Regions from separate parts of the Homo sapiens genome. Here all the other regions are linked to region 2. The links are contacts of gene promoters, found by promoter capture Hi-C in blood cells and fetal thymus (Javierre and others, 2016). All regions are on one chromosome and are shown on one strand. The core of a region is centred on a gene start or on the middle of the fragment in contact, and the rest is flanking DNA. Distances in the headings are between cores, read along the strand shown. Region 1 holds the start of CKS2 (CDC28 protein kinase regulatory subunit 2). Region 2 holds the start of DAPK1 (death associated protein kinase 1). Region 3 has its middle 18 kb from the start of TUT7. Region 4 has its middle 37 kb from the start of TUT7. Region 5 has its middle 56 kb from the start of TUT7.

Region 1 (5,629 bases), core at 2,895-5,394, 1.8 Mb after region 2:
GAAATAGAAAAACCAGGGAAACTGCACCACAAGGAAACAATTACACAGATCCAGAATGTGTAACGTTCCACAGGCAAAAATGACCTGGTTTGATGAACAGATGTTAAAAAAGGTGGCAGGGGTGTGTGTGGGGAGGGTGTCTATGTAGGTAGAGGTTGGGGGGTTGTTTAAAGAAGACTAAAAGAGACAATAACAAAATGTGGTCGGGTGCGGGGGCTCACGCCTGTAATCCCAGCACTTCGGGAGGCTGAGGCAGCCGGATCATCTGAGGCCGTGAGTTCAAGACCAGCCTGACCAATATGGAGAAACCCCATCTCTACTAAAAATACAAAATTAGCTGGGCATGGTGGAGGGCACCTGTAATCCCAGCTACTTGGGAAGCTAAGGCAGGAGAATTGCTTGAACACAGGAGGCAGAGGCTGCAGTGGGCAGATATCGCGCCATTGCACTCCAGCCTGGGCAACAAGAGTGAAACTCCATCTCAAAAAAAAAAAAAAAAAGAGAGACAATAACAAAATGCAAGATGTAGGCCCAAGTTTGAAAGCAGGGTTAAACAAACTATAAAAAGCTTTGGTGAGGCAGTCAGGGAAATGTGAGTCTAAAACAGCTATCAAAGAGTATTAAGGACGTCTAAGCGTAAGTATGATGTGGTTATGCATTTTTTAAAAAATTTTCCTGAGATGCACACCATAAACACAGAGATACACTGAAAAGTTTTATTTAGGAGTGAACTGACATATCTGAGATCTCTTCAGTAATATTCTAGAAAAAAAAAGTTAGAGAGGAACAGATGAAACATGATTGGCAAACGGTAATTGCTGAAGCTAAATGACTGGAACAAGTTGAGTATCCCTTACCCAAAACACTTGGGACCAGAAGTGTTTCAGGGTTTTTTGGAATCTGGAATATGGGCATTTTGTTAACCAGTTCAGTATCTCTAATAGGAAAATCTGAAATCTGAAGTGCTCCAATGAGCATATCCTTTGAGCTCATGTCAGTGTTGTTCAACGTTTTGGACTTTTGGAGCATTTCAGATTTTCAGATTAAAGATGCACAACCTGTACATGGGAGTTGATTCTATTATTCCATGTGTTTGAACTTTTCACAGTGCAGATGGTCCTTGACTTACAATGGTTCAACTTAAAATTTTTTTGACTAGTCAGGATGTAATCCCATTGTAAATTAAGGAGCATCTATACATTTATTTAAAAATATATCTCCCAGGAAGTTTTTTTCCCCCAGGTTCTGCCAGAAAGTAATTTCCTTGTCCATTTTCCTTAACAGTTTATTCACATTTTTGCCATCATAGTAATTATACCTAATTATTTACTCTTATTATACTGTGCCTAAAATTTACTTCTTATTGTGTGCTTATGTGCAAGGAACTCTGCTATGTGCTAGGCACTCCGTGGTGAACAAGACAGACATGGCCTCTACACTAGCTTCACAGAGTTGTTTTTTTTTTTTTTGAGACGGAGTCTCGCTCTGTCGCCCAGGCTGGAGTGCAGTGGCACAGTCTTGGCTCACTAACAGAGAGTATTTTATAGCGCAGATAGGGAGACAACCACCACCTAAGCAAACATGCAATTGCGACAGTGGGAGGGAAGCCCACTGGAGTCGGTGGCAAGGGCATAATGGGGAAATTGAAGAACTTTCTGTAGAGAAGTTGATTAAGGAAGGCCTTTCAGAAGATGAAATGCTTAATCTGAGACCTGAAGGATTCTATCATGTATGAACGAATGTTTGTGTCTGCTCCCAGCCACCAAATCATGCGTGGAAATTCCAGGCCGGGTGTTGTGGCTCATACCTGTAATTCTGTTACAGGAAAGGGGTCCAGTCCAGATCCCAAGGGAGAATTCTTGGATCTCGTGCAAGAAAGAATTCAGGGTGAGTCCACTGTGCAAAATGAAAGTAAGTTTATTAAGAAAGTAAAGGAATAAAAGGATGGCTACTCCATAGACAGAACAGCCGAGGGCTGCTGGTTGCCCATTTTTATAGTTATTTTTTGCTTATATGCTAAACGAGGGGTGTATTATTCATGCCTCCCCTTTTTAGACCATGTAGGGTAACTTCCTGATGTTGCCATGGCATTTCTAAACTGTCATGGCACTGGTGGGAGTGTAACAGTGAGGACCAAAGTCACTCTCTTCGCCATTTTGGTTTTGGTGGGTTTTGGCTGGCTCCTTTGCTGCAACCTGTTTCATCAACAAGGTCTTTATGACCTGTATTTTGTGCTGACCTCCCATTTCATCCTGTGACTTAGAATGCCTTAACTGTCTGGGAATGCAGCCCAGTAGGTTTTAGGCTCATCTTACCCAGCTCCTGTTTAAGATGAAGGTGCTCTGGTTCACTTGCCTCTGACGATCCCAGCACTTTGCGAGGCCAAGGCGGGCAGTTCACTTGAGGTCAGGAGTTCGAGACCAGCCTGGCCAAAATGATGAAAACCCGTTTCTACTAAAAATACAAAAACTAGCTGGGCCTGTAATCCCAGCTGCTCTGGAGGCTGAGGCAGAATGGCTTGAACCTGGGAGGGGGAGGTCGCAGTGAGCCAAGATCACACCACTGCACTCCAGCCTGAGCAGCAGAGTGAGACTGTCTCCAAAAAAAAAAAAGGGCGGGGGGTGGAATTCCAAACACCCTCTTCCCCCAAGAAGTGATTGTATTAGGAAGTTAGGAGGTGGGGCCTTCGGGAGGTAATCAAGATTAGATGGTCATGAGGGTGGGGCCCTCACCCATGGAGATTATAAATGTCCTTAGCCGGCCTGTCTCACTTGTTCAGAAACCGGAAAAGTCCGTGGTCTGCAGTGTGGAAAAGGGCACCCGGACCTCTTACTTCCAGCCTCTAGTCTGGAAACTTTGTCTAAGGTACCCCATCTACATTACTTAGTCACAGCCACCCTGAACCCACTAGCCTGTACTGCGCTGGAGCATTTCGCATAAAATGAAATTAACATAAAAATGACACGTGCTCGTTGTGGAAAAAATACCAAAAAGATCACTTTTAATTCTGTCATCTAAAAATAACCACCAGTTACATTTATAAATTTCTTCCAGTAACTTTTTTATATGAACATGTTTTTAAACTTGGGTCAATATTAAAAGACCAGAAGTTGTTAAACATCATTTTAAATCCCCTTATCCAGGAATTAGCATTGTTATTCTTGGCCGCAGCAGAATATTATTTTATTCCCTCAAGCTTTCCATGGCTTGGGTCTGCCCTGGTTTTGAACATTAGGTTAGGCTACAGAAAGCATTCTGGGTCTCTGGCCCATTTGTTTCTTTCTTTGTGGAGACGGGGTCTGGCTCTGTTGCTCAGGCCTGTCTGGAACTCCTGGGCTCAAGCGACACTCCACCTCGGCCTCCCGAGTGGCTGGGACCACTGGCGCCCGCCGCCACCGCGCCGGCTCCGGGCCTCTCTCTACGCGTGGCTCCGCAGGCTCCATTCTCCACACAGTCGTCTAGGGGGGCGCCAGGAGCCCCGCGACGGGCCAGGCCGGAAGCTCAGCAAGTGCACCAGGCGGCGAAACGGCCGGCTGCGCAGGGCAGCCCCGGACACAGCCACGCCGCGGCCGCCCGGCGCTCCCCCGACCCAGCCGACCACGAAGCCGCCCTCCCCCTCACACCGCAGAACCTTTCTGCCTTTTACTACTTTTCAAAGTGGACCTAGGCTCCTGGCTCGAGCCTGAGGGGATACAAGGGATCACGAGGAGCGCCATCACCGTGCAAGGTCGACAGCTTCCGCTCAAAGCCCTGTGGCCCACGCTTCCGGCCTCGACCGACTACGTCATCACCAAACCCCGTGATACCTCACTCCACCTTCAGGTCCTCCGTCCCAACGGTTCCGTGTCCTGGAACTTTCCACGTTCCTGCGCACGCGCTCTGCGGCCCTTAACGTCCCGACTTCGCCCTCCTCTGGCCACGCCCCTGCCCGTTAAGGGCCCTGCCACCCCCGTGACGTACCTATCTTCCCTCGGGCAACCTCGCAACAGATCTCTGATTGGCTGACCCAGGAAGCGGACTTTGCGAGGCGGCGGCGACGATAGGCTGGCAGCCGGCCGACTTCCGCAGAAGGTGATTGGTCGGCGCTGCTGTCCAATCGGCGGCGGGCTGTCGGATTCAAATCCGGATCGTTGGGACTGCGGTCGTTAGTCTCCGGCGAGTTGTTGCCTGGGCTGGACGTGGTTTTGTCTGCTGCGCCCGCTCTTCGCGCTCTCGTTTCATTTTCTGCAGCGCGCCAGCAGGATGGCCCACAAGCAGATCTACTACTCGGACAAGTACTTCGACGAACACTACGAGTACCGGTGGGCGCCTTTCTTAGACCCCGAGCCGGCTCCCTCAGCCGGGGCCCCCGCGGGCGGGGCGACCCAGGCATAGTAGGGTCGGGGGTGGGGGCCGGGGCCTGGGGGGCGGAGCCCGGGGCCGGAGGGCGAGGGCCGGGGTTTGGGGTCGCGGCCACCTGGCGCCCCGCGCAGTCGGACATGGTTGGGTGCCTGGCCGCGCCGGGCCGGTTGGGCCTTTGTTCGGTGTGCGCGGAGGGTGAGGGAAGAGTGCCCACCGGGCCGCATTTAGTACCTGGGTAGGAACCGGCGCAACTTGGGGGTCATGGGGTCCTCGGCGACGCGGAGTGACCATCCCGTCACTTTTTTCTCGGCCGTGGCCGAAGTAATTAGGCCGTTCAGTAGCTGGTCTCAGTTCCAGTTCTTTGAACCAGTCCAGGAAAACCCACCTGGTGCCGTCCTTTTTCCTTTAGCAACCGTGACACACTTTCCCTGTCGCTGACGGGGTGATGCAGCTTTTACTAGTTTGTGGTTTAGAATGGTCAAATGGTCATTTTCATCTGTTAACACAGAGGAACACTTTTCTTTTTCTTGTTTTTGAAGTGAGTGGTATAAGAATAAGCTTTGGAGGCGACCCCCCGAAAAATGAGCTTGATGGGGATTCGAAAATGTTTACTGGGTATGGTGATTTGGGCCATTATAGGTTAGCCGCAGTCATACAATTGAGGGTATTATTAAAGGAGTTTCATTTTAAGGCCGATTAAGAACTTGAGTGGACTTTGGGCATCATTTTCTGCTAGTATACACTGGCCAAATTTTGGGCTTTGAGAAACTTTTGCGTTTGAGTCCTGAAGCACCGTACTAGAACATGGTGGCTGTAATCGATCAGTAAAATTAGACAAATTTTAAATGTCCCTGTCCCCTTCCCCCCAATTAAAGTAGATTGGGGGAAAGCGAGTAGGGACATTTAAAATTTGTTGTCCTTACTGTATGCGGGACACTTCATTTAGGGCGTGGCTTCAGAAAACAGTCAACCCCTTTTTCTTAACTAGGTAGCGACTAGAACGCTGCGTTCTGGGATACTACCAAGATTTAGGGGAGATAAAGCCCATGCCATCGTTGGCCAAATTGTGACCTTGTTTTCTGTCTGCTGCCTTTGTAGGTTAGATTTCTCCGAATGCTATTTAAGGAAGAAAGAACAAAACAGTGGGTGGTTTCTCTTTTTCTCCCCCTCCCTAGTAGCATGGAAGTCTGTTTTCACATGAGGACTACTGAATATTTCTATGGGTAGTAGTAATTGCACCCTTTTGTATTCCTAGCTAGAAAAATAGCATGTTTTTCTGGCTGTAGGT
Region 2 (5,773 bases), core at 1,629-4,128:
ACTGGGAGTGAGGGTGGGGCTGGACAGCTGGCTTCTCTGGGCATCTCTCGTTCTTTCTGTGGTTTTGTCACATGTCTCTACATGGCAGCCCTAGGGTAATCATGACAGCTGAAGGCTTTAGAGTGGGTGGAGGGGGAGAGGGAGGGAGGGAAAGAGAGAGAGAGAGAGAGAGAGAGAAAGAGAAGCAAGCAGGCAGAAGCTCTAATGCCTTATGACCTAACCTTGGAAATAAATTACACTGTGCCACTGCCACTACCTTTTCTTAGAAGCAAGCAGATAGGGTTGGTGAATATTTATTGAGAGGGGAATTAGACTCCACCTCTTGATTGGGGGAGTGTCAAAGAATTTGTGAATATGTTTTTAAATGACCACATTTCCCCTTTCTAAAATGCTTGTCTAAATTGGTGTACACAAAAAGCTCGGGGGTTAGTGACTCATCCAAGGTTATTAAGCTGTTAAATGGTTCCACCAATACTAGATCTAATTTTGTGACTCCAAATTTCATGCTCTTTTTCACTACTCCAGATAATCTCCGGTGAACATCATTGTCCATTAGGGTAGTTAAGACATTCTAGCTGCCAAATAGATTCAGTCCTTTTAATTGCCTCGGACAATATATTTTTTATTTTGCAGAAAATAAATATTACCCATATGGCAGTCATCCATAAACACCTTCCAAGTTTATCCCAAACATCTGTGTTTTAAATTTTTTCTCCCAACAGATGTATTCATTTGCATTTTCCCAGATGAATCACTCTTTTTTTGTTGTTGTTGTTATTTTTGACTGTATTTCTCACCTCTCAAGACCCTTTTGTATTATCAAGCCCACTGCTTAAGCTAATACCATCTCCCAATTTGGGGACTTCCCCTTGATTCCTGTGTGCCCTTCCTGTGGGTCATTAATGCAATGTTATTTAAGACTAGGATTTGGCTGGGCGCAGTGGCTCACGCCTGTAATCCCAGCACTGTGGGAGGCCGAGCCGGGAGGATCACCTGAGGTCAGGAGTTCAAGACCAGCCTGACCAACATGGTGAAACCACGTCTCTACTAAAAATACAAAATTAGCCGGGCATAGTCACATGCCTGTAATCCCAGCTACTGGGTAGCCTGAGGCAGGAGAATCGCTTGAACCCGGGAGGCGGAGGCGGAGTTTGCAGTGAGCCAAGATTTCACAACTGCACTCCAGTCTGGGCCACAAGAGCGAAAACCCGTCTCAAAAAAAAAAAAAAGACTAGGATTTGACATAAGGCCTGAGGGGTATTCTTTTGTTTTGTTTTGCCTTGTTTTCAAGAGGCCAAAATCTTCACAGTTGAAAATTTCTGTTGAACCACAGAGATTTGAACCAACTCAGTTTAGAAAGCCTGGGGATTTGAACAACGGTATGGATCGGAAATCTCTTCATCTGTCAGTTTTCATCATTCTAGGCAGTAAAATAGATTTCCCTTTAGGAGCTTTTCACCGTTTGGGGTTCTCCAGCAGTGGGATGTGGGGAATCAACCCTTCTTCGTCTCCACCCAAACATTAGGTGGGAGCAAGGGGTGGGAAGTAGAGAAAGTGGATAGAGGTCTCCAGTGGATATGGGATCTTTGTGTAGACCAGCACAGTCCTCAGAAATCTCATGCAAGCAACATAGGTACTGTTATATTTTCTAGTGGCCACCTTTTAAAAAGTAAACAGGTGAGGCCGGGCGCGGTGGCTCACGCCTGTAATCCCAGCACTTTGGGAGGCCCAGGCGGGCGGATCACGAGGTCAAGAGATGGAGACCATCCTGGTCGACACGGTGAAACCCCGTCTCTACTAAAAATACAAAAATTAGCTGGGCATGGTGACGCGCGACTGTAGTCCTAGCTACTGGGGAGGCCGAGGCAGGAGAATCACTTGAACCCTGGAGGTGGAGGTTGCCACGCTCCACTACACTCCAGCCTGGCGACAGAGTGAGACTCCGTCTCAAAAAAAAGAAAGTAAACAGGTGAAATTAATTTTAATAATATATTTTGTTTAACCCAACGTATCCAAAATACTATCATTTGAAAGTGTAATGAATATAAAAATATTCATGAGATATTTTTCATTCTCATATCCATACTGTCTTGGACTCTAATGTGTATTTTACACTTACAGCACAATTAATTTGGGACTAGCTACATTTCAGCTCAACAATAGCCAATAGCATATGGGATAGCGCAAATAAACTCTGCGTCTCTGTTGCTTCTTTGGGTCTCGGAGACCTCAACCCTTTCTTCAGATTGCAAACCTTCTTGCCTTCAAGCCTCGGCTCCAACACCAGTCCGGCAGAGGAACCCAGTCTAATGAGGTACGCTCCCTTCCTGCCATTCTCTATTCCATTAACCTGTTTCGTGGTAAACGTAGGACTGATCCTCCAAAATTACCTTATTAATTAGCTTACATATTTATTATCTATCTGTCCCACCAGAATGCAGGTTTCCGGAAGGCAGGGATTTAAAAAAATCTGTTTTGTTCTATGTGATTTTCCCATACCAAGCACCGTGCCCGGCACAAGCTGGGATCCCAGTACACATCTCGGGACGGAAGAACCGTGTTTCCCTAGAACCCAGTCAGAGGGCAGCTTAGCAATGTGTCACAGGTGGGGCGCCCGCGTTCCGGGCGGACGCACTGGCTCCCCGGCCGGCGTGGGTGTGGGGCGAGTGGGTGTGTGCGGGGTGTGCGCGGTAGAGCGCGCCAGCGAGCCCGGAGCGCGGAGCTGGGAGGAGCAGCGAGCGCCGCGCAGAACCCGCAGCGCCGGCCTGGCAGGGCAGCTCGGAGGTGGGTGGGCCGCGCCGCCAGCCCGCTTGCAGGGTCCCCATTGGCCGCCTGCCGGCCGCCCTCCGCCCAAAAGGCGGCAAGGAGCCGAGAGGCTGCTTCGGAGTGTGAGGAGGACAGCCGGACCGAGCCAACGCCGGGGACTTTGTTCCCTCCGCGGAGGGGACTCGGCAACTCGCAGCGGCAGGGTCTGGGGCCGGCGCCTGGGAGGGATCTGCGCCCCCCACTCACTCCCTAGCTGTGTTCCCGCCGCCGCCCCGGCTAGTCTCCGGCGCTGGCGCCTATGGTCGGCCTCCGACAGCGCTCCGGAGGGACCGGGGGAGCTCCCAGGCGCCCGGGTGAGTAGCCAGGCGCGGCTCCCCGGTCCCCCCGACCCCCGGCGCCAGCTTTTGCTTTCCCAGCCAGGGCGCGGTGGGGTTTGTCCGGGCAGTGCCTCGAGCAACTGGGAAGGCCAAGGCGGAGGGAAACTTGGCTTCGGGGAGAAGTGCGATCGCAGCCGGGAGGCTTCCCCAGCCCCGCGGGCCGGGTGAGAACAGGTGGCGCCGGCCCGACCAGGCGCTTTGTGTCGGGGCGCGAGGATCTGGAGCGAACTGCTGCGCCTCGGTGGGCCGCTCCCTTCCCTCCCTTGCTCCCCCGGGCGGCCGCACGCCGGGTCGGCCGGGTAACGGAGAGGGAGTCGCCAGGAATGTGGCTCTGGGGACTGCCTCGCTCGGGGAAGGGGAGAGGGTGGCCACGGTGTTAGGAGAGGCGCGGGAGCCGAGAGGTGGCGCGGGGGTGCCACCGTTGCCGCAGGCTGGAGAGAGATTGCTCCCAGTGAGGCGCGTACCGTCTGGGCGAGGGCTTCATTCTTCCGCGGCGTCCCTGGAGGTGGGAAAGCTGGGTGGGCATGTGTGCAGAGAAAGGGGAGGCGGGGAGGCCAGTCACTTCCGGAGCCGGTTCTGATCCCAACAGACCGCCCAGCGTTTGGGGACGCCGACCTCGGGGTGCCGTGGTGCCCGGCCCCACGCGCGCGCGGGGCTGAGGGGTCGGGGGCGTCCCTGGCCGCCCAGCTTTAACAAAGGGTGCTCCTCTCCACCCCGCGAGGAGGGGCAGCTCCGGAGACCCGGTCTTCAGCGAGCGGGGTCTTAGCGCCGGGGAGGTCTACTTCCTTTTGGGGTTGCCATTTTACTATTATTATTGCCTTTTTTTTTTCTTCAAAAGGACTGGAGACTGATGCATGAGGGGGCTACGGAGGCGCAGGAGCGGTGGTGATGGTCTGGGAAGCGGAGCTGAAGTGCCCTGGGCTTTGGTGAGGCGTGACAGTTTATCATGACCGTGTTCAGGCAGGAAAACGTGGATGATTACTACGACACCGGCGAGGAACTTGGCAGGTAAAGGGGGTACCAGAAGCGTACCCTCCTGGATTGTGGAAATGCATAACGATGGGGCCATTGGGTGGTAAACAAATGCAGTTTGAATCAGGCGTCTCCCTCGCCCTTTCTGGAGATGCGCAAATCATAGAGAAAAGAGTTACTAACCCAGCGGTAAACCGCCTGATCCAAGGGCCTGGGGGTGGAGGAGAGGCAGCAGTTCAGGGCTAGATTATGATGCACAGTATATTGATCCAGTCCCCTGGACAAAATCAGATTTAATTGTCCGTGCTAACTCTTGTCAGCCCTTGCCCTTCTGTGACAACAGGACAAACACTAAGATTATAATTGCAATTGGAGTTAGCTTTTATGTGTGATTTAAACGGAGGGTACAAACTAATTAATAGGTTTTAAAAATCTTAGTACTTTACCCTCTATCTAAATTTTCAGTGTAATTTGAGCAAGTATTGGTAGGTGGTAAATGGAGACTTGCCAGATGTTGACATTGGGCTTGGATTTTGAAACTTCTTCCAACCAGGAATTTAATTACCTGGTTGGTGTTGGTGGTTGCTTTGGTTTCATTTACAATGTTAAATTTTTAACAAATCAATGAGAGTCTAATATGGCTATCTGGATTCAGAGCATACCTCCATTGCTGTAGCAGCTGTGATTCTCAGTGTAAAATCTTTCAGTTTCTAGGTAAACAAAGAATAGTTTCTTTCGGGGCATCTAAGGGCTGATTGCTGTTTCCTTTGACTGTGTATTAGACAGAGTGTTTTGGGCTCTGGTCAACTTTAGTAGAAAACCTAGTTTTCATACATACATTTAAAACTGAATTTATGGAATTTGACTGTGGTGTATTTACATTGTGAGTGGAGTAGGCAAAAGGATCTTTAAACAAACAAAATATGTATTTACTTATATGTGCATTGAAATATGTATTTTCCCATATACATCTGATGTCCTGATACAAAGCTTCCTTTTTCTCCATGAAAAGGAAATTAAAAAACACCCACATCCTGGATTGCCTAATGAGAATTATGGAAACTAAGCTTAACTAAATTTTTTTAAAAATTCAAATGATAGTGTAGAATTTTTTTAAAAGTTACTGTAACAGAGTATTTCTCTAAATATTTAGTATCGACTGAAAACATAGATGGGGGCCTGTGCTTAGGAAGAGCTCTCTGTATATTGATGATCTGGTGAGTAAATAAGGAAAGCTCTTCAAACATCACATTTCATGGATATGTTTAAGATTAAAGTTTAAGAGTGTGTGGGTGAAATATTTGGTTTAACTGGAATTAAATAACTTTACTGTGGTTTTCAGCAAGATGAGTGGTATTTGGAGTTTTCCTTTGGGACTGGAAGAAAAAAGCAAAAAAATAAATTTTAATTTGATTTGCATAGTGTGGCCTGATCGTTTAAGTGTTGTTAGAAAGAGAGATGACTAAAATTAGTTGAGATTATTATATTATGGATTAAGTATATTGACCTTATTTTCATTATGATTTTTTGGTACCATTATGTGTTATGAGAAAGAAATAGAAAAAGAGGCCTCCCTGTGGTTGGCGAAGGGAGTTTTTGATCTTTATTTCGTGGGCGTGATGATGAGGGGAGGGAGGTGGCTTACTTATTTGTCACTA
Region 3 (5,275 bases), core at 723-3,222, 1.1 Mb before region 2:
CACCTAGGTTGATTCCTTATCTTGCCTATTGTGAATAGCGCTGCAATAAATAGGCGGATGCCAATGTCTCTTCTATGTAATGATTTCCTTTGCCTTGGATAACTTCCCAGTAGTAGGATTGCTGGATCATACAGTAGTTCTATTTATTTTTTTTTGAGACGGAATTTCCCTCTTGTCACCCAAGCTGGAGTGCAATGGCGCCATCTCAGCTCCCTGCAACCTCTGCCTCCTGGGTTCAAGTGATTATCCTGCCTCAGCCTCTCAAGTAGCTGGGATTACAGGCACACATCACTATGCCCAGCTAATTTTTGTATTTTTGGTAGAAACGGGGTTTCACCATGTTGGCCAGGCTGATCTCAAACTCCTGACCTCAGGTGATCCACCCACCTCGGCTTCTCAAAGTTCTGGGATTACAGGTGTGAGGCACTGTGCCCATTCCTATTTGTCATTTTTAAAGGGAGCTCCATACTGTTCTCCATAGTGGCTGTAAGGGTTGCATTCTCACCAACAGTGTATACAAGCTCCCTTTTCTTGGCCAAGTGCGGTGGCTCATGCCTATAATCCCAGCACTTTGGGAGGTTGAGGCAGGAGGATCACTTGAGCCCAGGAGTTCGAGACCATCCGGGGCAACACAGCGAGACTCCATCTCTAAAAAAAAAAAAAAAAAGAAAGAAAGAAAGAAAAATTCCCTTTTCTCTGCATCCTCACCAGCATTTGTTGTTTTTTGTCTTTTTGAAATTGTCATCCTAACTGGGGTGAGATAATACCTCACTGTGGTTTTGATTTGCATTTCCCTGATGACTGGTGATATTGAGCATTTTTCATATATTTGTTGGATTTGACCATTTGTATATCTTCTTCTGAGAAGTTTCTATTTCTATTATTTGCCCATTTTAAAATCAGATTCTTTGTTATTTTGCTGTTGTGATGTTTCAGTTCTTTGTATATTCTGCATATTAATCTCCTGTCAGATGAGTAGTGTGCACATCTTTTCTCTCATTCTGTAGGTTGTCTTTTCACTCTGTTGATTGTTTCCTTTGCTGTGCAGAAGCTTTTTAGTTTGATATAATTCTATTTGCTTATTTTTGCTTTTTTTCCCTATACTTTTGAGGTCTGATTCATAAAATCTTCTCCCAGACCAATGTCCTGAAGCATTTTCTCTATGTTTTCTTCTAGCAGTATTATTGTTTTGGGTTTGACATTTGGGTCTTTGATCCATGTTCAGTAGATTTTTGTATAGGGTGAGAGGTGGGGGTCTAGTTTCATTCTTCTCTATATGCATATCTAGTTTATCTAGACACATTTTTTAGAGAGACTGTCCCTTCCCCCATGAGTGTTCTTGGCACCTCTGTTAAAAATCAGTTGGCTGTAGATATGTGGACTACTTTTGGGGTTCTCTATTTTGTTCTATTGGTCTATGTGTCTGTTTCATGCCAGTATCATGCGTTTTGATTACTCCAGGTTTGTAGTATATTTTGAGTTCTGGTAGTGTGATGACTCCAGCTTTTTTCTTTTGCTCAGGATTGCTTTGGATACTTGGGGTCTTTTGTGGTTCCACACAAATTTTAGGATTTTTTTTCTATTTCTGTGAAGAAGGTCATTGTTATTTTAATAGCAATTGCACTTAATCTGTAGATTACTAGGGGAGAGTATTGTCATTTTAAGAATATTAATTATTTCAGTCCATGAGCTTGAGACATCTTTCCTTTTTTTCTTTTTGAGATGGGGTCCCACTCTGTCACCCAGGCTGGAGGCTGGAGTGCAGTGGTGCAATCTTGGCTCACTGCAATCTCTCCCTCCTGGGCTCAAGAGATCCTCCCACTTCAGCTTCTCCAGTAGCTGGGACTACAGACATGTGCTGTCGTGCCTAGCTAATTTTTGTAGTTTTTGTGAGATGGGTTCTTACTGTGTTGTCCAGACTGGTCTGGAACTCCTGGATTCAAGTGTTCTGCCTGCCTCAGCCTACCAAAGTGCTGGGATTACAGGAGGGAGCCACTGCACCTGGCTGTCTTTCCATTTTTTTGGTATCCTCTTCAATTTCTTTAATCAGTGCTTTGTATTCCTCATAGAGGTCTTTTGCTTCCTTGGTTAAATTTATACTTAGGTATTTTATTTCATTTTATAGCTGTCATAAATGGGATTGCCTTCTTGATTTCCTTATCAGCTATTTAATTGTTCATATATAGGAGCACCATTGATTTTTGTATATTAGTTTTTTATCTTACAACTGTACTAAATTTGTTTACCAGTGCTAAGTTTTTTGGTAGCATCTTTAGGTTTTTCTATATGTAAAATCATGTTGTCTGCAAACAGGAACAATTTGACTTTCTCCTTTCCCATTTGGATGCCCTTTATTTCTTGCCTGATTGCTCTGGCTAGGAGTTCCAGTACTATGTTGAATAGGAGTGATGAAAGTGAGCAACCTTGCCTTTTTTTTTTTTTTTTGAGATAGAGTCTCAATCTACTCCCAGGCTGGAGTGCAGTGGCCCAATCTTGGCTCACTGCAACCTCTGCCTCCCAGGTTCAAGCAATTCTTATGCCTCAGCCTCCCAAGGAGCTGGGACTACAGATGCGCCACCACACCTGGCTAATTTTTTGTATTTTTAGTAGAGACAGGGTTTTGCCATGTTGGCCAGGCTGGTCTTGAACTCCTGGGCTCAAGTGATCTGCCTGCCTCAGCCTCCCAAAGTGCTGAGATTACAGGTGTGAGCCACTATGCCCGGCTGGCAACTTTGTCTTGTTCCAATTCTTAGAGGAAAATCTTTTAGCTTTTCCCTATTCAGTGAGATGTTAGCTGAGGGTTGTCTTACATAGCCTTCATTATGCTGAGGTACTTTCTTTCTATACCTAATTTATTAAGGGTTTTCATCTTGAAGGGATGTTGTGTTTTATCAGAAGCTTGTTCTGCATCTATTGAGATGATAATAAGCTTTTTGTCCTTAATTCTATTGATGCAATATATAACATTTATTAATATGCATATGTTGAACCATTTTTACTTTCCTGGAATACATTCCGTGTGATCACTGCTTATTATCTTTTTGATATGTTATTGGATTTTGTTTGCTAGTATTTTGTTGAAGATGTTTGCGTCTGTGTTCATCAGAGACACTGGCCTGTAGTTTTCTTTGTTTATTGTGTTGATTCTGGAACTGGAGTCATGCTGGCCTCATAGAATGAGTTAAGAAGAATTCTCTCTGCTTCAACATTTTGAAGTATGAGAAAAATTGGTATTAATCATTTAAAGATTTGGCCGGGTGCAGTGGCTCACACCTGTAATCCTAGCACTTTGGGAAGCTGAGGAGGGTGGATCACCTGAGGTCAGGAATTCGAGACCAGGCTGGCCAACATGGCAAAACCCCATCTCTACCAAAAATACAAAAATAAGCTGGGTGTGGTGGCATGCGTCTGTAGTCCCAGCTACTCGGGAAGCTGAGACAGGAGAATCACTTGAATCTGAGAGGCAGATTGTAGTGAGCTGGGATCACACCATTGCACTCAGGCCTGGGCAACAGAGCAAGACTCTGTTTCAAAAAAAAAATTCTTTAAAGGTTTGGTAGAACTCAGCAGTGAAGCCATCTGGTCCTGGACTTTTCTTTGTTGAAGCACTTTTTATTAGTGATTCAATCTCATCACTTGTTATTGATTTGTTCAGGTTTTCTATTTCTTCTCAGTAGGTTGCATGTGTCCAGGAATTTATCCATTTCCTCCAGGCTTTCTCATTTATTGGCACATCATTGTGCATAGTTGTCACTAATGAGTCTTTATATTTCTATGGTATCCATTGTGATATCTTCATTTCTGGCTTTTGATTTTATTTATTTGGATCTTCTCTCTTTTTTTCTTAGTCTAGCTAATGGTTTTTTTATTTTGTTTATCTTTTCAAAAACCAAATTTTTGTTTCATTTATCTTTTGTGTTTTTTTTTAAGTCTCCATTTTGTTTATTTCTGCTCTGTTCTTATTATTTCTTTCCTTCTACTAATTTTGGGTTTGGTTATTTCTTTCCTTCTACTAATTTTGAGTTCTTGCTTTTCTAGTTCCTTGAGGTGCCATTACGTTATTAGAAATCTTAGAAATCTTTCTAGTTTTTAGATGTAGGCATTATTGCTATAAACTTGCCTCTTAATACTGCTTTTGTTGTGTCCCATAAGATTTTTTTTTGTTTTTTGTTTTGTTTTGTTTTGTTTGTTTTGAGATGGAGTCTTGCTCTGTCACCCAGGCTAGAGTGCAGTGGCATGATCTTGGCTTACTGCAACCTCCACCTCCCAGGTTCAAGCAATTCTCCTGCCTTAGCCTCCCAAGTAGCTGGGATTACAGGTGTCTGCCACCACACCTGGCTAATTTTTTTTTTTTGTATTTTTGGTAGAGATGGGGGTTTCACCATGTTGGCCAGGCTGGTCTTGAACTCCTAACCTCGTGATCCACCTGCCTCAGCCTCCCAAAGTGCTGGGATTACAGGCATGAGTCACTGCATGCAGCCAAATTTTGATACATTGCCTTTCTTTCTTTCTCTTTCTCTCTTTCTTTCTTTCTTTTGTTTTTGAGTTGAAAAGCTTTGTTAAAGCAAATTTGCACTGGTTTACAAAACTTCCTGAAGTATTTTAAGATGCTATCCACTGAAACTATGCCTTAAAAGTTAGCTTTTCTAAAAAAACACTGTTAATCTTCCCAAGGGCAATTTTCATGTATTAAACTGTGTATAGTGTTTTAAAGAGCTATATTCCTCAAAATAAACTATATAAAAAAGATTAAAAGTCCTCTTCATTTATTTCCCCTAAGTTCCATGCCTTTCTGAAGAGGCAGATGTCTTATGCTCAGAATCCCTTCCTGCACCACCCATCCACCCAAAAGAATCCCTTTATTATGATCTTGTCTTCTTCTACCACACAATAGTCAGTCTGATTTTATCCATGACTGGATTACTATATACATATCCCCATTTTCTATGACCTAAGTTTCCCTCTCTTCATTTATGTAGTTGTCTATCATCAATGAAAAGTCAAGAGAGATGTGAGTCTGATCTTATTTGTTACTCAAAAAATCTTATTTCTGACTGGATTCAGGCTTGGAAGCAGAAACTCACAGAGAGGAAAGTCTGCATCTCTTGGCAATTTGTTTCTGGGGCTTCTCTTTAGCCTCCTTCATGCTCTTGGCCAAAAGTTTAGTGTATTCTGCAGCCTCTTCCTTATTTTTCTTAGTACGCTGCTTCTTCAGAGCAATACACCGCCGATTGTGCTGCAGGACATGTGGAGTAACAAGATGCTGAATCTTGGG
Region 4 (5,090 bases), core at 334-2,833, 1.1 Mb before region 2:
GGTCCCTCTCCTAGCCCTGGACACAGAGATATGATGGAAAGAAATACAGATTCTTTAGAGAATCTGTATCTCCTTCAAAAGGAAATAGAGCTGGTGTTGGGCAGATCTGAGCTGTGTGGGTGATAAAGACAGGGGAGGATGGAAAGAAATTTCTACTGATTGGATAACCACTGGGCTGAAAACTAAGTATATATGTCTGATAGTCTTCTCAAAATTATACAATTTGTGAGTTATACTAGAAAATGAAGGCTTAGACCGGGTGCGGTGGCTCACAATTGTAATCTCAGCACTTTGGGAGGCCGAGGTGGGCAGATCACCTGAAGTCAGGAGTTTGAGACCAGCCTAAACAATATGGTGAAACCCCATCTCTACTAAAAGTACAAAAATTAGCCAGGCGTGGTGGTGGGTGCCTGTAGTCCTAGCTACTCAGGAGTCTGAGACAGGAGAATTGCTTGAACCCAGGAGGTGGAGGTCATAGTGACTTGAGATTGTGCCACCGCACGCCAGCCTGGGTGACAGAGTGAGACTCTGTCTCAAAAAAAAAAAAAAGAAAAGAAAAGAAAACAAAGGCTTAAAGAGGTAGAATCACAGGCAGATGGCAATATGATTTTACTGGTCTATGTGAGACTTCACCAAGGTCTTTCTGACTTCAACGTTTATATATTTTTTTACTACGCCATGCGCCAAGCTCCTGTCACCTGACTGAATCCTCATACCTCAAAGAGCTACTGTTCCTTTCTGGATTGTGTGATCACCATCTGCAACTGGGACTCAGTAGTCTCAAGACCATGGTTCCAGCTCTGCCTCCATTTTGCTTTGATCTTGGGCAAGTTGTTTTCCCTCGTGGGCTTTGGTTTCCTTAACTGTAAGCAAGAGTCAAAGAACATGAAGCCAAACATTATTGTTTTTAATTAATCATGAACAATTCAATTTTTTCAATTTTTCTCATTAGGGTGTGCATTTTTATAAATTTTTGTATTTATAATGATTTGTTCTTATTGATTATTTGAAATTTAAGTAAAAAGTTAAATTATATATTTTGTGGTTTTTGTTTTTATGTTTAGATTTATCTTCTATTTTTGAAACTGGATTTTAAATTAGAGTTGTGATATAAAGCTTTCTTTTAAAATGTATAAATTTTTTAAAGTCAAATTTATTTACAGAAAATTATTAATAAGTAAATAATTATCCAGAGATGGCAAAAATCATGAAGTTGATAATTATCTGACTGAACTTTAGGAAGTACTAGGTCTAAGACAGAGATGAGAAAATGCTCAGGATTTAACAGTGATGCTGTCTAACATTTGGACATTAAGAAAAATAAGAGGAACTGGAAAAAGAAGGCCAAAAAAGGAGGGGGTTGAGTCATAAGAGGGAAATTAAGAGTGTAACATAATTAGTCCTTGTGCTGTGCTGCTCTAACTGCATGGTTGCCAAATGTATCAAAAAAGCTACCGTTTTTTTTTTTTTGGTCACTTCCAAGGTGGCCAAATAGGAACAGCTCTGGTCTGCAGCTCCCAGCGAGATCGACGCGGAAGAAGGGTGATTTTTCCATTTCCAACTGAGGTACCTGGTTCATTTCACTGGGACTGGTTGGAGAGTGGGTGCAGCCCATGGAGGATTAGCTGAAGCAGGGTGGGGTCACCTCACCCAGGAAGCACAAGGGGTCAGGGGATTTCCCCTTCCTAGCCAAGGGAAGCTGTGACAGACTGTACCTGGAGAAATGGTACACTCCAGACCAAATACTGCACTTTTCCCACAGTCTTAGCAACCGGCAGACCAGGAGATACCCTCCTGTGCCTGGCTTGGCAGGTCCCACGCCCACGAAGCCTTGCTCACTGCTAGAATGGCAGTCTAAGGTTGACTTGTGATGCGGCAGCTTGACCAGTGGGGAGGGGCATCTGCCATTGCTGAGGCTTGAGTAGCTCACAGTGTAAACAAAGTGACAGGAAGCACAAACTGGGCAGAGCCCACCACAGCTCAGCAAGGCCTACTGCCTCTATAGATTCCCCCTATGGGAACAGGGACTAGTACATCAAAAGGCAGTAGAGAAAGCTTCTGCAGACTTAAACATCCCTGTCTGACAGCTCTGAAGAGAGCAGTGGTTCTCTCTGCATGGTGTTCGAACTCTGAGAATGGACAGACTGCCTCCTCAAGCAGGTCCCTAACCCCTGTGTAGCGTGACTGGGAAATACCTCCCGGTAGGGGCTGACAGACATGTCAAACAGGCAGGTGCCCCTCTGGGACGAAGCTTCCAGAGGAAGGATCAGGCAGCAATATTTTCAGTTCTGCAGCCTCCGCTGGCTATACCCAGGCAAACAGGGTCTGGAGTGGACCTCCAGTAAACTCCAACAGACCTGCAGTTGAGGGGCCTGACTGTTAGAAGGAAAACTAACAAACAGAAAGGAATAGCATCAACATCAACAAAAAGGACATCCACACCAAAACCCCATCTGTAGGTCACCAACATCAAAGACCAAAGGTAGATAAAACTACAAAGTTGGGGAGAAACCAGAGCAGAAAAGCTGAAAATTCCAAAACACAGAGTTTTCTCTGTGTTTTGGAGGAGTCTTCTCCTCCAAAAGATTGCAGCTCCTCGCCAGCAAGGGAACAAAACTGGATGGAGAATGAGTTTGACGAGTTGACAGAAGTAGGCTTCAGAAGGTCAGTAATAACAAACTTCTCTAAGCTAAAGGAGCATGTTCTAACCCATCGCAAGGAAGCTAAAAACCTTGAAAAAAGGTTAGATGAATGGCTAACAAGAATAAACGGTGTAGAGAAGACCTTAAATGACCTGATGGAGCTGAAAACCATGGCATGAGAACTTCGTGACGCATGCACAAGCTTCAATAGCCGATTTGATCAAGTGGAAGAAAGGATATCAGTGATTGAAGATCAAATTAATGAAATAAAGTGAGAAGACAAGATTAGAGAAAAAGGAGTGAAAAGAAATAAACAAAGCCTCCAAGAAATATGGGACTATGTGAAAAGATCAAATATACGTTGATTGGTATACCAGAAAGTGATAGGGAGAATGGAACCAAGTTAGAAAACACTCTTCAGGATATTGTCCAGGAGAACTTCCCCAACCTAGCAAGGTGGGCAACATTCAATTTCAGGAAACACAGAGAACACACAAAGATACTCCTTGAGAAGAGCAACCCCAAGACACATAATTGTCAGATTCACCAATGTTGAAATGAAGGAAAAGATGTTAAGGGCAGCCAGAAAGAAAGGGCAGGTTACCTACAAAGGCAAGCCCATCAGACTAACAGTGGATCGCTCAACAAAAACCTTACAAGCCAGAAGAAAGTGGGGGCCAATATTCAACATTTTTAAAGAAAAGAATTTTCAACCCAGAATCTCATATCCAGCCAAACTAAGCTTCATAAGTGAAGGAGAAATAAAATCCTTTACAGACAAGCAAATGCTGAGAGATTTTGTCACCACCAGGCCTGCCTTACAAGAGCTCATGAAGGAAGCACTAAACATGGAAAGGAACAACTGGTACCAGCCACTGCAAAACAAGCCAAATGGTAAAGACCATCGATGTTGGGAAGAAACTGCATCAACTAACGAGCAAAATAACCAGCTAACATCATAATGACAGGATCAGATTCAAACATAACAACATTAACCTTAAATGTAAATGGGCTAAATGTCCCAATTAAAAGACACAGACTGGCAAATTGGATAGAGTCAAGACCCATCAGTGTGCTGTATTCAGGAGACCCATCTCACGTGCAAAGATGCACATAGGCTCAAAATAAAGGGATGGAGGAAGATCTACTAAGCAAGTGAGCAAAAAAAAGCAGGGGTTGCAATCCTAGTCTCTGATAAAACAGACTTTAAGCCAATAAAGATGAAATGTGACAAAGAAGGCCATTACATAATGGTAAAGGGATCAATTCACCAAGAAGACCTAACTATCCTAAATATATATCACCCAATACAGGAGCACCCAGATTCATAAAGCAAGTCCTTAGAGACCTACAAACAGACTTAGACTCCCACACAATAATAATGGGAGAATTTAACACCCACTGTCAGTATTAGACAGATCAATGAGACAGGAGGTTAACAAGGATATCCAGGACTTGAACTCAGCTCTGGACCAAGTGGACCTAATAGACATCTACAGAACTCTCCACCCCAAATCAACAGAATATACTTTCTTCTCAGCACCGCATCGCACTTATTCTAAAATTGACCACATAATTGGTAGTAAAATACTCCACAGCAAACGTAAAAGAAGAGAAGTCACAAGAAAATGTCTCTCAGACCACAGTGCAATCAAATTAGAACCCAGGATTAAGAAACTCACTAAAAACTGCACAACTACATGGAAACTGAACAACCTGCTCCTGAATGACTACTGGGTACATAACGAAATGAAGGCAGAAATAAAGATGTTCTTTGAAACCAATGAGAACAAAGACACAATGTACCAGAATCTCTGGGACACATTTAAAGCAGTGTGTAGAGGGAAATTTATAGCACTAAATGCCCACAAGAGAAAGCAGGAAAGATCTAAAATTGACACCCTAACATCACAATTAAAAGAACTAGAGAAACAAGAGCAAACACATTCAAAAGCTAGCCGAAGGCAAGAAATAACTAAGATCAGAGCAGAACCGAAGGAGATAGAGACAAATAAAACCCCTTAAAAAAATCAATGAATCCAGAAGCTGGTTTTTTGAAAAGATCAACAAAATTGATAGATCGCTAGCAAGAAAAATAAGGAAGAAAAGAGAGAAGAATCAAATAGATGCAATAAAAAATGATAAAGGGGATATCACCACTGTTCTCACAGAAATACAAACTACCATCAGAGAATACTATAAACACCTCTATGGAAACAAACTAGAAAATCTAGAAGAAATGGATAAATTCCTGGACACATACACCCTCCCAAGACTAAACCAGGAAGAAGTTGAATCTCTGAATAGACCAATAACAGTTTCTGAAATTGAGGCAATAATTAATAGCCTACCAACCATAAAAAGTCAAGGATCAGACAGATTCACAGCCGAATTCTACCAGAGGTACAAGGAGGAACTGGTACCATTCCTTCTGAAACTATTCCAATG
Region 5 (5,054 bases), core at 507-3,006, 1.1 Mb before region 2:
CAGTGGCACGATCTTGGCTCACCGCACCCTCAACCTCTGGCCACAAGTGATCTTCTCATCTTAGCCTTCTAAGTAGCAGGGACTATAGGCATGTGCCACTATGCCCAGCTAAATTTTTGTATTTTTTGTAGAGGTGAGGTCTTACCATGTCACCCAGGCTGGTCTCAAACTCCTGAGCTTGAGCAATCTGCCTGCCTCTGCCTCCCAAGGTGCTAGGGTTATAGGTGAATACCACTGCACCCAGACTTCTCTATGAATTTAACTGCTCCAGATTCCTCATGTAAGTGGAATTGTGCAGTATTTATCTTTCTGTATCTGGCTTATTTCGCTTAGCCTAAGTCCTCAGGGTTCATCAATGTTGTAGCATGTGTCAGAATGTCCTCCCTTTTTAAGACTGAGTCATATTCTATTGCATGTATTTAACTGTTTGTTCTCTAAGGGATTTGAGACAAACCCTCAGCATGGTAGCCAGTACCTGCCACATTAATATGAATAGTTCTGGGAATGGCCTAAAGTTTTGTGGGCAATTCTAGCATCTTCCTGAGCACAGAGCTGGAGAGTGCACAGAGGCCCAGGGTAAATTCTGTATCTCTGCTGAGAAACAGCTATTGCAACCAAGAAAGAGGTATGGGGTGCCTACCCAGTCCCTGGGCACTATTTCAGTGGCTGCTCCCTTAAGATCCCTCCCATTGGAAGCTCGCTTGTGGATTGTACCTCAAACTATTGGCTTGCTCTTGAAAGTGCCTTTTGTGCTGGTGGGATCCTACAATCCTCTGTCTGTAGCACTTACGAAAGAGACAGTTTTGCTGTCAGGATTATGTTCTTGAGAAGTTTCTACTATACCCCAAATCAAGTGAGAGAAAATGTTGAACCTTAATGTCTTCAGCCTTTAATTTACCAAAGTCAAAGGATTTCATCTTTAGACTTCAACCTCTCTTTGAAACTGTAATCACTGATGTGAGTTTATGTAAATTTGGGCATTTTTGTGTGGTTGGCTTTGCCTTATTTGGAACATTTTAGACTTTCATGTGGTGTTTATTATAAAATGTCATGAGTTATGTTGGGTATTAGGTGGAATATAATTGGAGATGGAAAATTTAAAAAGCAATGAATTTTGGCTTTCAGTGTGTGCAGTCTTGAAGTTTTCTTCTTTCTTTTTTTCCATTTTATTTTATTTCATTTTATGTTTTTAGAGACAGAGTCTTGCTATGTTGCCCCAGCTGGTCTCGAACTCCAGGGCTCAAGTGATCTTCCCACCTCAGCCTCCTGAGTAGCTAGGACTACAGGCATATACCATCATGCCCAGCAAAGTTATCTTAATTCTGTCCTTACTGATTTCAGAGCCTTCTGGGGCAATAGCTGAGCTGCCCATTTTACAGATCCCAGAAGCAGACACAAGGAGAAGCATGGGATGGGAGTAGGGCTCAGCTTTGTGGAGGTGGAAGGGGCACTGCTCTGAGATTACTCTGCCCACTGGCTTCAGGTGTGTTTATGAAATCTCACTGATGGAGAGATGCCAGCTAGTGTCTCCTTAGTCTGCCTTAAGAGACCCTCTGTTACTCTGCAGGCATTAGGCACTTGACCAATCCACTAATAAAGTTGTTTTTTTTTGATCTTCATCTGGATCTCAGTGTCAATTCTCCACTGGTTGGAACCAGCGTGGGAGGAGGGATGATCAGAGTTGTTATCTTTAATGTATTTCTTTTTTTCTTTTTCTTTTTTTTTGAGATGGAGTCTTGCTCTGTAGCCCAGGCTGGAGTACACTGGTGCAATCTTGGCTCACTGCCACCTCCATTTCCCGGGTTCAAGCAATTCTCCTGCCTCAGCCTCCTGAGTAGCTGGGATTTCAGGTGCCCGCCACCATGCCCAGCTCATTTTTGTATTTTTAGTAGAGATGGGGTTTCACCCTGTTGGCCATGCTGGTCTTGAACTCCTGACCTCAAGTGATCTGCCAACCTCGGCCTCCCAAAGTGCAGGGATTACAGACATGAGCCACCACTCCTGGCCCTTTAATGTATTTCAAACAACAAAGAGTTGGCAAGCCCATGTGAATTCCCAAAATTAATTCTTTTTTTCTTTGAGATGGAGTCTCGCTCTGTCGCCCAGGCTGGAGTGCAGTGGCGCGATCTTGGCTCACTGCAAGCTCTGCCTCCCGGGTTCACGCCATTCTCCTGCCTCAGCCTCTTGAGTAGCTGGGACTACAGGCGCCCGCGACCACGTGCAGCTAATTTTTTGTATTTTTAGTAGAGACAGGGTTTCACAGCATTAGCCAGGATGGTCTCGATCTCCTGACCTCGTGATCCACCCGCTTTGGCCTCCCAGAGTGCTGGGATTACAGGCGTGAGCCACATCACCCGGCCAATTAATTTTTTTTTTTTTCAAACTGATCCATGGACTCATCTTCTGGAATCCACTGCCTTAAAGATCATGCAAATCTATGTGCTCATTTTACAAAAGAGGAATGTGAAGCCCAGGGAGTTTATTTAACTTGCTGATGGGCACAGATGGTGATCAAGCTGTGCTCAGAGCTGCAAGCTGTTTCCATCAAACCTGCTAGAAGCCTCCAGCTGAGATTAGGGCCCCGGCCACATTCACCTCCTAGGATTTGCAGTGGTGTAAAACGTGCCCCAGGATGTGCAGTGGTCTGGGGGAAGGCGGGAGAGACCCCTGGACCTGTGCTGGCATAGCTACCATGTCCATGACACTGGGAGGCTAAGATGGAGAGGAAAACAAGATGAGTCCAGCTTCCCTACTCAAAAGCCACAAAACAGTACAGTCAAGGACAATCCTGGTCTCATCTACACTATAGGCATTTCAGGAGGACCAAATTAGGTAACCAAGATGTGGGTGCTTGAAAAATTATGATGTATAATCTGAAAGCAATGTTAGCATCAGGCTACCGAGACAATCTTGTGTGGGCCAAGTGTGGAATCAGCATCATCATTTTATAAGCATGCTTCATGGGCCAGGTTTTCACATCAGCCTTGATATCTCCATCCAAAGCAAACTCACCCATTCATACTGGAGAAAAACTCTTCTTGATTTTTATGTAGTGAACTGAGATTCCTCTAATGCCTCACAAAGATATTTTTCCAATTTCAGATGGGAACCTGTCTTCCTTAAACTTTTCCTTTTTATAGCCCCCTGTAAAGATTTTGATATCATCTCATGTAATCTTCTTATTCCCAATTTTTTAAATGAGTTCTTTAGAGTTCTTCATTATACTGTGAGTAGAAAATTCCAAGTTATCAGTTTATCTGTTTTAGCCAAGGATTGAAAAGACATTTAGTATAATTTACAAGGAGGAAAATGTAAGGAAATAGGAGATTTTAACTAGATATTAAATAGAAGGAAACAAAACAACCTTTACAACTGCTTTTCTTGCTTTAGAATATTATTTTTAAGATTTAGCCTGAAATTGAGAATCAAGAGCTTATCTGGTTTGCTTTATGGTTTCTAAAAATTCATTTGATTCTAACATTACATGGTTCCTATTGGTATTTCTGTTTTTGATGGACAGATAATGTGCTGTAATGTCTACTCATGTAATATCTAGTGTTGCATGATTCCTCTCCATCTCTCTGTTTTTGAGAAACAGAAGCAATGTTTATTTGAGTGGAAATATGATTTCAAATCATATTTCAAAGACTTCAAATAACTGATAGTGCTCATCTCCCCAGAGGGAATCATGAGTCAAAGGTCAGGGAGTAGCCTGTGAATGAAAATGTGCTGTGCCCACAAGAAAAGATGTCAGTCACAAAGCGAAACTAACACCGCAAATATAAGGGGGTCTTCAAAAAGTCCATGAAAAATATGTATTGTGAAAAAACTGTGCATGGATTTAAAATTCTTTTTTTACAGCAAATAAACTTGTACTAATTTATTATAATATATCTGAACAGGGTCTAGTTTGAGGCACTAAGGAGGATAATGCATCCGTTTGAAAAGAGTCCTTATAAGAGAAACATGGATTCTGCTAAAATTCAAGCAAGAACAGACATCACATTTGTGGTGAAGCTTGGGTGGAAGAATGGTAACATCACTGATGCTTTACAAAAAGTTTATGGAGAAAATTCTTCAAGTGATAATTTTACAAATGAATAACTTGTTTTAGGAAAGGACAGGGCCGTGTGAGGTGGCTCACGCTTATAATCCCAGCACTTTGAGAGGCCAAGGATGATTGCTTGAGGCCAAGAGTTTGAGACCAGCTTAGGCAACAAAGTGAGACCCTTTCTCTACAAAAAATAGAACATTTACCTGGGTGCGGTGGTGCATGCCTACAGTCTGAGCTACTTGGGAGGCTGAGGCAGGAGGATTGCTTAAGCCCAGGAGTTTGAGCCTGCAGAGAGTTACAATGGTGCTACTGCACTCCGACATGGGTGACAGAGTGAGACCCTGTCTCTTAAAAGGAAAAGGAAAAGAAAGGACAACATTGTTGAAGATGAAGCCTGCAGCAGCAGACTATCCACATCAATTTGCAAGGAAAAAATTTTCTTGTTCATACCCTAATCAACAATACAAACAATAGCCATCATCATAGACAAAGGAACATCATTATTAGGACTGAAAATTAACAGCACAAACAATAGCCAACATTCTCGACATTTCAACTGGTTCAGTTTACACAATTCTGACTAAAAAATTAAAGTTGAACAAGCTTCCCGCTCAATGGGTACCAAAACAGTTGTGCCTGGGTCAGCTGTGGACAAAAGCCGAGCTTTCCGTGGAAATTTTAAATACATAGGATCAAGATCCTGAAGCATTTCTTCAGACTAGTAACGGGAGATGAAACATGGCTTTACCAGTATGGTCCTGAAGACAAGGCACAATCAAAGCAATGGCTACCAAGAGGTGAACGTGGTGCAGTCAAAGCAAAAGACGATGGGTCAAGAGCTGAGGTTATGGCAACAGTTTTTTGGGATGCTCAAGGCATTTTGCTTGTTGATGTTCTGGACAATAACATCTGACTATTATGAGAGCATTTTGAGAAAGCTAGCAAAAGTTTTAGCAGAAAAACTCCTGGAAGAGCTTCACCAGAGAGTCTTTCTCTACCA

Evidence for each region. The method cuts DNA at HindIII sites, captures the fragments that hold promoters and counts their contacts. A CHiCAGO score of 5 or more calls a contact.
Region 1: a contact is called between the fragment with the promoter of CKS2 here and the fragment with the promoter of DAPK1 in region 2, in 1 of 17 cell types (fetal thymus). The highest score is 12.0, in fetal thymus.
Region 3: a fragment that was not itself captured here is called in contact with the fragment with the promoter of DAPK1 in region 2 in 1 of 17 cell types (M1 macrophages); the score reaches 6.2 in M1 macrophages.
Region 4: a contact is called between a fragment that was not itself captured here and the fragment with the promoter of DAPK1 in region 2, in 6 of 17 cell types (M1 macrophages, M0 macrophages, megakaryocytes and 3 more). The highest score is 9.2, in M1 macrophages.
Region 5: a contact is called between a fragment that was not itself captured here and the fragment with the promoter of DAPK1 in region 2, in 3 of 17 cell types (M0 macrophages, M1 macrophages and megakaryocytes). The highest score is 10.9, in M0 macrophages.

The regions. Positions count from the first base shown.
Region 1 is chr9:89,307,051-89,312,679 of GRCh38, forward strand. It overlaps CKS2 (CDC28 protein kinase regulatory subunit 2), which reads left to right and starts at 4,145. Exons shown (of 3, transcript NM_001827.3): 1 at 4,145-4,301. The coding sequence starts at 4,243. It overlaps MIR3153 (microRNA 3153), which reads left to right and starts at 5,175; the gene lies at 5,175-5,256. It overlaps LOC105376136 (a long non-coding RNA gene), which reads right to left and starts at 3,752. Exons shown (of 3, transcript XR_930101.4): 1 at 2,316-3,752; 2 at 1,808-1,896. RefSeq lists a silencer at 3,451-3,680 and enhancers at 3,691-3,980, 4,651-4,700. The HindIII fragment of the contact is 1,703 bases long and covers 3,195-4,897 here.
Region 2 is chr9:87,494,989-87,500,761 of GRCh38, forward strand. It overlaps DAPK1 (death associated protein kinase 1), which reads left to right and starts at 2,879. Exons shown (of 26, transcript NM_004938.4): 1 at 2,879-3,119; 2 at 3,982-4,151. The coding sequence starts at 4,090. RefSeq lists silencers at 2,528-2,587, 2,608-2,957, 3,328-3,517, 3,728-3,837 and an enhancer at 3,228-3,985. The HindIII fragment of the contact is 10,886 bases long and covers 1-5,103 here.
Region 3 is chr9:86,369,922-86,375,196 of GRCh38, forward strand. It overlaps the pseudogene RPS6P13. Among named protein-coding and RNA genes, the nearest start is that of TUT7, 18 kb to the left of the region's middle. The HindIII fragment of the contact is 1,847 bases long and covers 1,050-2,896 here.
Region 4 is chr9:86,388,496-86,393,585 of GRCh38, forward strand. No RefSeq gene overlaps it. Among named protein-coding and RNA genes, the nearest start is that of TUT7, 37 kb to the left of the region's middle. The HindIII fragment of the contact is 939 bases long and covers 1,115-2,053 here.
Region 5 is chr9:86,407,961-86,413,014 of GRCh38, forward strand. No RefSeq gene overlaps it. Among named protein-coding and RNA genes, the nearest start is that of TUT7, 56 kb to the left of the region's middle. RefSeq lists an enhancer at 2,248-2,845. The HindIII fragment of the contact is 4,518 bases long and covers 1-4,015 here.